3 separate regions of the Homo sapiens genome follow, and regions 2 and 3 are each linked to region 1. Evidence: promoter capture Hi-C in 16 types of primary human blood cells and fetal thymus (Javierre and others, 2016). All regions are on one chromosome and are shown on one strand. The core of a region is centred on a gene start or on the middle of the fragment in contact, and the rest is flanking DNA. Distances in the headings are between cores, read along the strand shown.

Region 1 (4,565 bases), core at 1,272-3,771:
TAAGCTAAATGAAGAGTATATGGGATCTCTGTAGTAGTTCTTAAGACTGCCTGTGAATTTAAATTTATCACAAAATAAGCTATTTTAATTTTAAGTATCTATTAAAAAAATTTTGCAGGTAAAATTGCACTCATGGTCAGATTTTGTATTCCACAACCACCAAACTCTCATGATGCTAGGAAGGAAATGTACTAGAAAAACTACTGTCTTAGAAACTGTTATGCTGGACGTTGGAAGTGGCATGGGAAAGTCACAGAAGTAAATGGATAAATGGCAAGGTGGAAATGAATATAAATTTTGATTTTAGCACCAAATATAATTGCTGTGTTTGCATTACTATTGTGACTATAGACTCCATCTCCATTCAGCTGCCATACTCCTAATCAGGCAGCTGCTGCAGAATCATGCATTTTTTTTGACAATAATTACTTAATCCATGTATGTAGTTGGTCATTATTGCAGTTTCTGAGGCAAAACCAAATATGCTGCCCTTATTTCCATTCTGTCTCTTCTCTAGTCATCTGGCCTCTTCCTTTCCCAGAAATTCTTAAGATCATTGACTCCACCGACGGAAGTCAGGCTTCTGACTGCCTAATAAATAAGTTCACCAGTGAAAAGCCTATTTTTCATTCTGTTTAATTACAGGCTTCAGAGACACTCAAAATGGAGCGTATCTGGGGGATAAATAATACTGTAGGTTTGGTTTACTTTTCTCCTATTGGCATTGGCACCAAGCCTTCCTCTGCTTTGAAATTCATGGCTGCGACCGTGGCTGCATACTAAACAGAGCGTAGTCACCACACAGACGGCTTCACCCATCCAGATGCAGCTCAACTAGTCCATATACCGCGATGGCCAACTCTGTGCAGTAGTTTAGATACCTAATACTGCTGGTTTGTTTCTAGAGCAATCTATGTGTGTGATTGTAAATGGGTTCATACATTACAATTTGAATTGGATGTGGTGAACTACACTGGAGCTTGAATTACGATATTCTCATTCTGCATTGTGGATCATTGCCTTCAAAATTGGCTCTTAGAAGTGAATATATGTAAAAAATAATTAGATGACATATAGACATTGTAAAAAATATCAAAAATACAAGGAAGTAACAGTGAAAAGTAAATTTCCTTCCCACTCTGGTCTTCTTAGTTTGCAATTTCCCTTTCACAGAGCAACCACTGTTAGCAGTTTCATGCAGAGACATCCTATGCATATATAAGTATATATGCATAAGTTTTGTGTACGGAGAGAATACTATAGCTCTACCTTCCTATTTTTGCATACAAATGTGACATGATGTACACAAAGTTCTGTGATTTTTGTTCCTTTTATTCAATAACTATTACAGACCTCTCTATATCAGCATCTGTGATCTGTCTCCACCTTTTAAAACAGATTCCTAGTATTCTGTTGAATTTATATAACCATTTTGTACTTAGTCTGTCACATTTTCATGAATATTTGCTGTTTCCAATATTTTGTTAACACCAACAATGCTTCGATGAACATCATTGCATATAGTAATTTGTGCCATGTGTAAGGGGTACATTCATGTATCTTGCAAGGAGAATTCTTGCTCTAAGGGCATATTTATTTTTTATGTTGATGTATATTGCCTACTTGTTTTCCAAATAAGCTGTACAGTTTTCCCAACCGTATATGAGAGTATTTGTTTCCCAGTATTTATCCCTCTTCCCTATATTATCAATTTTTTGAACTTGCCAATCTGATTATAATTCTAAGGTATGTTTATCTAATTATGACTGAGGTTAAGCATCTTAACAATCATTTGTTACATTCTTTCCACATAACCATTTAGCTCTTCATTATACCCTGAAAGATATCCATCTTCTCTCCACTAGTTTCAAATGGAAGCTTAAATAAATTTGTTTATTTGAGTCTAAACTCTCCATTTCTAAACTCTCTACTCTTTTACATTTACCTTATTATTTACACATATCAGTACTAATTTTTGTAAAATGCATAGATTAAGACATCTTAATGTACAATAGGTTAGTGCCTTTTCTTTTTCTCAGAATTTCCCTAGATATTCTTGCTTTATTTTTCAGTGGTAGTGATGGAGTTGTTTCATAAAATAAACATTGAAATATACCTTGTTTAAAAGAGGGGTATTATCACAATAAAACAAGGAAAGCTTTATGCCTAAGTTTGGGTTAGACCTGGAACTGAAAATGGTGTGTAGGAGAACAAAGAGTACCAACAAAGGGAAGAAAATTGAATAAATGTTCCAAATATGAAATACTATTAGAAACCCAGAAGTTCCCTGGAATAAAACATGCACTTGAATGTGGAAAGTTATTAAGTAGCCAGCTAGCTCTGTAGGTCAGCATTTATAACCCCTACTTTTAAAGGCCTTGACAAACAGTGCTAAAGTTCTCACCTTAAACTTAAATTCCTTGGGCTCTTAGTACCTGTAAACATGTACCCAACATTCCTTCCCCTAGCATGCACTTTACGAGTCACAAGGAGCCATTATTAATGCATGTCCTGGTAGGAAGCATAACTTATAGAGAAGCTAGTAAGTTCTGAGAAAGAAGGAAATAAACACAGGCACCAAACCACTATCCTAAGTTGACTGTCCTTTAAATATGTCAAGATCCAGACTTTTCAGTGTCACCTCAGCGATCTCAACGATAGGGATCTTGTGTTTGCCGCTATTCCAGGTAACTATCTCTCTTTCTGGGTTAAGGTTTTCAGAGGTACTCTGAGGTACTCTGAGGACTTGATTTGCTATAGATTTATATGTGAGCAACTTAACTGCTTCTACATTTAAAAGATTTCCTTCAAGCTTTACTAGCATCTTATGATTTCTTGTATTCACTGGTCAGAGGGACAAAACAAAATGTCCAAGGCATTAGTCTTATTTCTCCTTCAATTAGTTCTATTGCTACTGAAATAACGTGATTGCAAATTTAACCTTTGTTTAACTTTGCTATGCTGTAATTTTTTAAATTCAAAATGCTATTGACACAGAACAAAATGCTATGGCTAGATTAATTTAAGACATGTTTACTATTGCCTACAACCATACTTGATGCTTGACAGTTTTTCAATGCTGACTGATGTAGACAGAACCATTTTAGGATTTATTTCAGTTCCTCTGCTCCAGCATCCCCTTCTGACTAACACGTGCATCTCTAGATCTGTGTGACTTCAATGCAAGGTATCTGAAAGATTTAGATCTAAAGTAAATTATAGCTTTCCTTACCTCTTCATAATAACTGGAAGTTTGACAGCTAATGTGTTGGCAGTGAGGTGCTAATAATTTAATACTGTGTACTATTGCTAGGGTACAACACACAGAAAAAACACGGAAGTGACTTGAAAGTGAAATACTGGTTTTATTTGTTTATCTGTTAAGCTGGATCCCAAACGATTTCATCTACTCATAAATAAACTTTCTTTATGGACAAAATGTGAATGTTCATTTTCCTTTCACTTAGTATGCAAATCTATTTGCAGCATTCTAGCAAAAAAGAATGCAACTCATTTTCTGTGCTTATAAATTGTTCATTACCATGCTCTCTGATGGCCAATTCATGGCTCCATCTGCAACTCCACAAATCTCTTTGCCCAGATAAACTTGGTGGAGTAAATACAAGGTGCTGAAGAAGATGCTTTTGGGATTAAGGGGGGAAAAGACACATCTCACACAGAACTCCCAAGTCTATCACTTTAAATTTTGTAACTTCTTACTTGTACTTTTATTTGCGTGTTATAGTCCAGGAAAATAAATACTTCAACTGACTTCATCAACTAAGTGTTCAGAGCTACACATAAATGCCGTTTAAAGACTTTCTCCTTGTACAAGGAAGGAGTCCTGGTTCAAAGGGTCAAGCAAGCAAATAGATAATAAGATCTTTAGAAAGAAGTGCCTTTTTCCTTGTGATTTAGTATATGAGATGTTGTAACCTATGACACTCAGTGCAGATAACTAAGAGCATTATTTTAGAATGCTTATAGTATTGGACTTTTCAAACAAAGCAACAAAGATGATTACTTTTTTTCTCTTCTCTGATAAAGAGAAGACTGTAAATCTCAACTGGAATGTCATGTGATCTTAAATGGACCTTACCCTTAGAGCAGGTTAAAGTCGCCCTTTCATGAATATATATTTAATGCCCATTAATGCTAATAGGCTTGACTTCTGTTTCCATGTATGTACTTGGAACTTGTTTTTTTTTGCGTGAAAATAATACTCACTAATAATGAACCTCTGACCTCTAGCTACAACATGAAAACAAAAAATGCAAAGTGCACAAAAGCTCTTTAGAGCAAGCAAAATCTGCATATAGAAAAAACAAAAATTGTCGTAAAATCCATTTATATTGGTATGTAGAAATGGAATCTGGTTCACAATATATATCTTCTGCCACTGCTGAGCTTAAGAATCCACCCAGAGATTTTTTCAATTAAAATTCTGTGTACCAACAATAAACTCTGCTATAGAGCTTTTAATTAAAAAAGCAAACGAAATGATATAAACCCACATTGTCTCTAGGCGCTGCTTGTATTAAAGGATTAGACTGATGAGATGTTTG
Region 2 (4,565 bases), core at 999-3,498, 220 kb before region 1:
CAAAAAAACCTGAGTTTCACAACCATCTTAATTTCTCCCCTCTGGCCTTCCATATAATTATCTAGTATTTTCATTCCACAAATGCTAAATAATTATCATTTTTAAAATTTACATTGAATACTTAAGTTTGTTTTCAATACTTTTTATTTCTTTACTTATGTTTGCTTCTTACATATGATTCCTTCCTTCTAGCTTCACTTTCTTCCTTGATTAAGTATATTTCCTTTTTGTAAATTTCATGGATAGTGCTTTCACTCAGCGTTTGCTTTTTAGAAATGTCTTTATTTTATCGACTGATGTGAATTATAGTTTACCTGGGTATCTAATTTGGGGACAGGTTTTTTTCCCTCAACACCTCAACACTGGAATAATATTATTCCAGAAGCAGACTTGCTTCAATTTATGCTGGTAAGAAGTTCACTGATGGTCAAAGCTACTTACCTTTATATTATGATCCATTCTTTTTCTTTTTTATTGGTTTGGTTTCACTTTTGATTATTTTGAGCATTATAAACACATAAAAATACTTATCTCTCTCTTTCCTGCGGTTCCATGCATATGAATTTTCCCATTTGGAAAGTCTGTTGTTTGTCTGCTTTTGATATTTGTTAAGAACATCTTCAGGGGTCAGCTTCTTAGGGAGTCTTATGCAAATGCTGAATACCGTAAGTTTCTCCAAGGGAGCAGTTTTATAGTTGCCTCTGCCTAGGTCCTAAGGTGTTTGCTAGTTCTAATTTTTATGTCAGCTTTTTTTCCTTAGGATTTTTCCAAATATTTCAGATAGCGTAAACTTGAGCTCCACATAGGTAAAGGACGAGTATCTCATTATCGCTCTCTTTTTTTTGTAATTTTTAATTTTATTTATTTATTTTTAACTTTTATTTTAACTTCAGTGGTAGATGTACAGGTTTGTTATGTAGGTAACTCATGTCATGGAGGTTTGTTGTACATATTATTTTTTCACCCAGGTATTAAGCCTACTACTCATTAGTTATTTTTCCTGTAAGATCTCAGTCTATTACTGGTGACTTTGTTCATGCCTGTGACCTCAGGTTTTGTTGGTAAGCGGGCAGGGATTTTCAGAGATTTTAGGACCCCGTATATATACAAAGCAGCACTAAGTTTGGCTTCTCATTTGTACTTAAGAGCCCAGCTACAATCCTCTCTATATGTGGGAACTGAAGTTTTGGCTAGTTTTTGCATGTAGCATTAAATGTTTAAGCTACTAATGCATATACCCCTACTCTCCCAGAGGCAGTGTGGCCTCTTGCTCATTGCTGTTGCTCTGGGCTTATTTTTCATTTCTGGCCTCTGAATATTTCTCTTTCTTGCTTTATCTTTTTTTTTAATAGTTTTAATTTATGTTAAATATATTAGCCAGCAATGCTATGTGTCCAGCATAAGAACAAGGACTTCTGTTCTATTAAGTCTGGCATTTAACTCAGAGGTCTGGAATTCCTATTTGCTCAGTTTCTGATTCTTTTTAAGTGTCTTCTTTTTTATGCTTCTCCTGCCAAAAGCTATTTTTTTGTTCTATGTTTTCCTATTCAAATTCCAAAGGAAGATGATCTAATTGGCCTTTTCAACAGCCATTGCCCCTGTGAGCAGATATTTCATACTAGACTACTTTGTATGGTAGCAGCCAGTGAATGAATTTGCTGCTCTCGGACCAGTCCAAATTAGTGAACTCACTCAAAGAACAAACGACGTCAGCTTTTCTTAGTAGAGGTGGTAGGTTGGGATTTGAAAAGGTGTTAGGGGTGGTAGGCACTGTCATTAACATATCTAATATATCTTGTAATATAAGGTTTCAACTAATGGAATGAGTAATAGCTTAGATATCACTTAAGAAATAAGAGTATGTGTCACATAATAGATATGTAAAATTATTTGTTAAAAGAGTACATACATCGATGAATGAATTACCTGTGTTTTCATATGGGCTCTTCATTAATTTGATTTGAGCAAAGTTCTCTGTCCCTCAATTTCCCAAATATAAAATAGTGGGAATAATATCAGTTCTGCCTACCTCACAAGTTGTTATGAGAACAGAATCACAAGGAGGTAGACTATGTGGAAATATTTTGAAACTATAAAGTGTTATATAAATGTGATTTATTGCTATTGCTATTGCCATAACATAACATTTTAATTCAAAAGAGTTAAACAGACATTTTAACTCACAAGGCCATCTTGATAGTCTTATAATCTGTAATGACAAAATAATACAGCTTATTAATCATCAAACAGTTCTTGATCACATTTCATCATCACAGTATGTCAATGATATAAAATATAAACAACCACTTAAGAATCATGTTTATTTGAAATGTTATGAGGGAGTCTTATTTGTGTGGAAAATTTATTATTTTATTTTATTTGTGACGGAGTTTCCCTCTGTCGCCCGGGCTGGAGTGAAGTGGTGCGATCTTGGCTCACTACAACCTCCACCCTCCTGATTCAAGCGATTCTCCTGCCTCAGCTTCCCAAGTAGCTGGGATTACAGGCGTGCGCCACCGTGCCCGGTGAATTTTTGTATTTTTAGTAGAGATGGGGTTTTGCCATATTGGTCAGGCTGGTCTCGAACTCCTGACCTCATGTGATCCACCTGTCTTGGCCTCCCAAATTGCTAGGATTATAGGCGTGAGCCACCGCACCCAGCCTGTGTGGAAAATTTAGATGTTGAAGCCGGATTTATCTGGTTTTCAAATCCTGGTTCTGCCACTTGTTATCTGTTTTATCTTGAACAAGTTAGTTTTTCCGAATTTTGGTTTTCTCATCTATGAAATGGGGATAATTATCCTGCCTCTTGTTGTCTAAATGGTATAATGTATGTGAGTGAGAGTAGGTGGATCCTACTACTTTTCATTACCCTTTCTTTCTCCAGCCAGTCCCCTGCGGCCTCCCACACACAACACTTCATAGCAATTTCAAGGTCAGATAGATTGAAAAGGACTACCTAGTAGGAAGAAATATTTATTTTTAAAGGAAATCAATGTCCATAAACACAACTATTTATAAAGTACATAGTTGTGGCTTTTTTCATAGTTTTTATCAATTAAGCCATGTGAAATGTGCTCCAAGAGATGAGTCACTGTCTGCAGTTATTTAAACTTGATGGCCCGTCGCTACAGCCTGTCTCACGCAATTAATGTAATTCCCTGAATAGATCAATGTAATTTTTTGAATCAAATATCTAACCTAGAGTTTTCCAGATTAAGGTTTGCATAATAAAACAATATAGTCTGCTATGGACATGCTATTGAGTATGATTTTGTTATAATTCCAGAGGAAACGGTTGTGTTATCTTCATGACTTCTCTTTTAATTCTTCAAAAGACTGTATGTTTCACAAACATAGCTAATGGGATATGTTTTCAATTTGTTTTTCAAAATTTGAAAATAATTATGGGCCAGGAGCAGTGTCTCACGCCTGTAATCCAGAACTTTGAGAGGCCCAGGCAGGTGGATCACTTGAGGTCAGGAGTTTTGAGACCAGCCTGGCCAACATGGCAAAACCCCGTCTCTACTAAAAATACAAAAATTAGCTGGGCATGGTGGCTCATGCCTGTAATTCCAGCTACTCAGGAGGCTGAGGCACGAGAATCGCTTGAACCTGGGAGGCAGAGTTTGCAGTAAGCCAAGATTGTGCCACTGCACTCCAGCCTGGGCCACAGAGTGAGACTGTGTCTCAAAGAAAAAAAAAAAGGAAGTAATTATGCACTGTACTTGCAAAAGTTTTCTCTGTGCCTTTTGTGTGTAACATTTTACTATTCTGTTTTGGATTGTTGCTGAATTAATGATAATTGATTAATTAATTGATTTATAGCTCTGAATAAAAAAATTCAAATTCCTGAATAAAATATATTGAAAGCTCTTCCTAACGGTAATTGATTTGATAAAATATAATTGGAAGCAGACTTTCTTTGAAATATTTTGACTTTAAACTTTTCTTTGTTTCTCTCAAGGGCAGGTTTTGTCTTCAGGCTGTGTGACTTGTGTTGAATATAGGCACTGTCATAATTGAATGAACCTTTAATTGTAGACTTTGGGTGGCTTTCAAAAGGAAGAAAAATTTCTCCCTAATTATCTTGGACTAATTATCTCTGCATTAATGGTTTGACTGCTGTTATTCATTATATGGGAAGCATAAATAGAAGGTTAGAGCTAAGGAGAACAGTTGTAGGCAAGGTCTTTTCTCACTCTCTGAGACTTACTTTTCTGTGATGGATCCAAGAGGAGCTTGGGTTTTGATTATTGGACACTGAAATTCTGATTCCATGATCATATAAAGTGATTTTATTAGTTGTTATATATTTATATGATTCTATACTTTTCTTTTTCTGACCTTGCCTTCTCCCCTCCTAAGCACTACAACACTTTGACCCAGCCCTCTAGGACTTATGATCAGTCAAATAAAACTTTTGACATCCCCTATCTCTCCTCTGTAACTTTCCTTCTTTTCTTATTCTAATATAAACTGGTTTGCCCTTGAAGATACTGTTTCTCCTCTAGCTCTCTCAGGTAGCTACTGTTTTCTTCCCACACCCCTTCACAATTGATGTG
Region 3 (4,565 bases), core at 721-3,220, 200 kb before region 1:
CCCAGTTTAAACTCCAGCATGCTGATGCTCTTTTCTGTCACATAGTCAGGGCTCAGAACAACAATCATCCTTCTGCTTCTCTGAATGAAATCAAAAACTGCTTCCACTGTATCTATAGGAAAATGGAAATATAGGACAATGTATAGTGAAAACTTACATATATTCCAGTTCGTTATTGTCCATCCTCCAGAGGACAGGGAATGAACAAACACTTGAGATGACAGAATCTCAGTGCTGAATAATTTACCCAGTCAAAAAAATCTACACCACTCTTGTCAATGGTTGCTAAGAATTTACTGCCTTCAAGGATGGTATGGTAGTTGAGCTCAGTCTCTCTCTCCTACTGCAAAACCCTCATTGCAGTAGTCTCCTTCTTCAATAAGTCTTTCTTAAAACACACACACACACACACACACACACACACACACACACACACACACACGGTGGGCAATTGAGTAACTACCCTCAAAATATTAGCCACCATCAAAAGCAAGTCATTTCAGCTCTGTTTACAAATTATTTCTTGTTTTGAAATCTTCTTCCTCGCAAATGTTATCTGGTGGTCAGATCTTGAGTCTTTAAATGTTTAGAATATTTGAAAACCATTTTTATATCTTTGTAGTATTTTCTTCTTATGTCTGGATTAAATATTTTCAGGATATTTCTCTTATTCCATAAATGACATGGCCTCATGTCTCCTCTGCATGTTTACCATTTTCCTCTGGATAATGTTCAGTTTATAGATGTGTCTTCTAAGAGTAGTATTATGAACAGGAGTGAACATAATGCTCCTGACATAGTCTGATCAGCAAAGAGCAACAGGAATTATCACCTCCTAAGATTCTCAGTTATATCCTTTGATACTTAACATTTTTGGACACAACATCGGACAGTTCATAGTAGTTCATAGTATTTATCTTGTTATCAATTAAATTCTTTTTTCTGTGTGTGTGGTGCGTGTGTGTGTGCGTCTGTGTGTGAAGAATTGGAATTAAAGGGGCAAAAACAATGAAAATGGGTAAGAATTAGTCAAGTAGCTAAGACTTCTGGCAAACCATTCGATTCTAATGGTATCAAAGTGGATTTGGACAGATCCCAAGGGAAAGTTCTTCAAATAAATGTAATGCTTAACTCACTGTGAGATTTAGGAGCTTAGAACATGCCATATCCTGAAGGAAAAAGGTTCAAAATTGTAAATCCTAGCCATTTATAACTTTGAAAACATGTGCCAGAGTCACCGTGTGAGGGTGAACACCTCTGCTTTTGGTCCAGGGACGAAACAGTAACGGAGAGAGTTTTCAGCCTTGGAAGACAGACTGAAAGTTTGCATTGGTCATTGTGAACTTGACAGGGAATAAGGGAGCTGTGCTTCTTACAGATTATAGTTTTGTTTTTTTCAATCAGTGGATTTAACATGAATTTGAAGGGAAATTGGAGAGACACGTGCTCAAGTTTTGAGAACTTTTGATTGGTTTAAGCAGGAGTGCAAAAATGTTTTTAGAGACATTTTGTTTCATTCATTCTTAAGAGATAAATTTAAATTCTCGTTTATCATTAAAACCCTTCTGTGTGTACGAGTGTGTGCACATGTGCATGTGTTTTAGCAACTCCTCAGTCCCCTCTAGTCCTACTCAGAATCTTAAGAGGCTGCCTCTCATAAATCAGAGAATATGAAAGTGGGAAGTCTACTGCTTCTCCTGGCTCCTGAGAAATGTGAAATAACCTTAAGGCAACATGGCTAGCTTGTCAACAAAGAGAACTCATGCAAATTGTGTGTGTGTGTGTGTGTGTGTGTGTGTGTGTGTGTGTGATATGATGTTTCACTTCAAAACAGTCACCTTAGGAAAATGTATGTTTTTGCCAATAGGAATATTGTTGTTTAAAATACAACAAACACTGTTCCAGATCTTCTTAAAAAATGACTTTTGAGTCTGTTGCTCTTTAATTTTTTTATTGGTACTCCATCCAGAAAGTGAGGAAGTTTAGATTTGAAAGAGGACAATGCTAAATGCAGGTAAGAGTGGCGGAATTTTAGACGTTGAGAAACACATGTAGGAGATGCTTCTCAGAAAGGTCCTGGGCTATACCGAAGGATCTTCACTTAATACTGTAAAGGGAGTTGCATGCTTTATTGCATATTTTTAAAATACCTTCTATATTGCCAAAACTTCATATTTGAGGACAGGAGCTATTATTTTTAATGCTAAAGTTTACTTGGAGGAGTAGTAATTTAGCTCATTTATTCTGTTTGGCTCAAAAAATGAGGTATGGCCATATAATAATGAGATTTGTTTTCTTGTGTGGTACTAAATTGGCTTTGAAGTCATGTTGTATGACTGAGAACTCTTCAATACTCAAGAATACTCTTGCCTGTAAAAGTCATAACTTCCATGGAGTTCACTTAGAAGAAAACTAGGATGGTCATTTTTTTTTTTCTCCTCTGGATGAGTTATTAGTAGATAAAAGAACAGCAAACCTCTGTCTCTTTCATTTTCTCTATTAAAACTTGAAGTATAGAAAAAAGGAAATATTTAACTTGGAAGACGAATGTGGTTTCAAATATTGCTTTCTCCATTTATCCCTATTTGTATCTTAATATCTTTTGAGTCCTAGTTCATCCATCTATAAAATGCATATGATAAAGTAAACTCGTAGGGCTGATAAACAAATTAGATGCCTACATGTGAATTTCTAGCACACAGTACACATTGCATAAATCACTTTGATTAAATTACTGTTGCTCAACGTCTAGTGAACACAATAGTAAAATCATATATGGACTAATGTTTATTGAATCTGTATCAATTATTAATGCTAACTTTAAAATATCATCTTACTATGTGGATTTATAAGAGTAATAGTGTGTAAAAGTTCTGTCTATTCAGTTTTAAATAGATGTAGATTAAAATTACTACTAAAACACTCCATCTCCTAACTCATTACTAAGGTTACTTTATATTCCTTGAGTAGAAACAGAGAAATAAGATAGACTAGTTGCTAAACCCGTCTCTCATACCATACTGTGTATTTACTTGCGTTAAAGAGCTAGTGACATCAGTATATACTGGAAAAAAAAATCTTGAGAGTTTAAGGAAGGTTAATCACAGCCAGGTAGATCATATGCAAAATGCTGAAGTTGAATCTTCCAAAGAGTCACCAGTATGTTCTAGTAGGTCACTTAACACGTTCAGGGTTGGAAACAACTTCAGACTCAAAACCACTTATCCAGTGCAAAAAACTCATATACAAAATCTCAATGAAAATCTATCAAATAAATGCTTATATACCTCTGGTAATGGCAGGCCTAGTATTTCCAAAGATAGTGAATTCCATTAGTGTCGAACTCTGCTTTACAGCTATTTTCTAACTGAGCAGAAATCTGTTGCCTTGTAACTTCGATCCGTTGATCCTAAGCCTACACTTTTGGGGCTGGTTTGCAAAAGGAAAATTAATTCTTCAGTAGAAGAACCTTTACTAAGCTAACCAATTCTGAGCATGTTACAGGGCTCAGTAAAATGAACAAATAGGATTTTTTTTTTTTTTCTGAAGTCTCGCTCTGTCGCCAGGCTGGAGTCCAGTGGTGCAATCTCAGCTCACTGCAATCTCCGCCTCCCGGGTTCAAGCGATTCCCCTGCCTTAGCCTCCCGAGTAGCTGGGACTACAGGCGTGCACCACTATGCCCAGCTAATTTTTTGTATTTTAATAGAGACAGGGTTTCACCATGTTGGCCAGGATGGTCTCGATCTCCTGACCTCTTGATCCATCCGCTTCAGCCTCCCAAAGTGCTGGGATTACAGCGTGAGCCACCGCGCCTGGCCAGGGATTTTTTTTTTTAAAGCAAAAAGGCATCCCTGTCACTATGGACTTGTATTATTAACCGAAAATAAAATATGTTTCCAAATATTAATCACTGATTTATTCAAAATTTGTAACAGAAATGCATCTTTGATTCAAATGATCATCAATTAACTAAAGTCATGGCATTAGTTTTATCTATTTCCAAAGCAACTACCGTGTGGTTGCGTTAAAGCCTATTAGATGAAAAATATTCCTGTAAACGACCTAAGTTCCAAGTTGAGTAAAAAGGAATAAGCTTGTTTTCCTTTGTATTAAAATAATCTTTCTCTCCTTTTTCTCTGTCTCTCTGTATCTTTCCATCTTTTTGACAGTCTTTCTGTCTCTCTGCATACACACATACACATACACATACACATACACATACACACATAAACACATATACACCCATAAAATATGTCCTAGTATTCTGGAACAATTCATTTTACTTAAGTAACTTTTACTTCCATGTAAAGAAAATGTTCTTGATAAGAAGTTCCCATTTTACTCAGATTTATCTCAGAAAGACACTTAACTAATGTAACTTATTATATTTCTTTGTGAATATAATAAATTCTTTCTGTTTTCACTTATGACCAAATGTGAAATGACCAAATGACCAAATGACATAAAACACATGCACAAAATAAAATTCAAAGCTGAAAATAAATGGTTTATTTTTAACATAAGTAAATTTACAAATCAAATGAAAAATGAAAAATACAAAAGTT

What was found. The method cuts DNA at HindIII sites, captures the fragments that hold promoters and counts their contacts. A CHiCAGO score of 5 or more calls a contact.
Region 2: a contact is called between a fragment that was not itself captured here and the fragment with the promoter of TMEM207 in region 1, in 1 of 17 cell types (neutrophils). The highest score is 5.5, in neutrophils.
Region 3: a contact is called between a fragment that was not itself captured here and the fragment with the promoter of TMEM207 in region 1, in 1 of 17 cell types (neutrophils). The highest score is 5.7, in neutrophils.

Annotation. Positions count from the first base shown.
Region 1 is chr3:190,447,857-190,452,421 of GRCh38, reverse strand. TMEM207 (transmembrane protein 207) reads left to right here and starts at 2,521. Exons shown (of 5, transcript NM_207316.3): 1 at 2,521-2,687. The coding sequence starts at 2,613. The HindIII fragment of the contact is 654 bases long and covers 2,161-2,814 here.
Region 2 is chr3:190,670,316-190,674,880 of GRCh38, reverse strand. No RefSeq gene overlaps it. Among named protein-coding and RNA genes, the nearest start is that of LINC02013, 27 kb to the left of the region's middle. The HindIII fragment of the contact is 8,522 bases long and covers 1-4,565 here.
Region 3 is chr3:190,651,436-190,656,000 of GRCh38, reverse strand. It overlaps IL1RAP (interleukin 1 receptor accessory protein), which reads right to left. Exons shown (of 12, transcript NM_002182.4): 12 at 4,487-4,565. Among named protein-coding and RNA genes, the nearest start is that of LINC02013, 46 kb to the left of the region's middle. The HindIII fragment of the contact is 4,251 bases long and covers 1-4,095 here.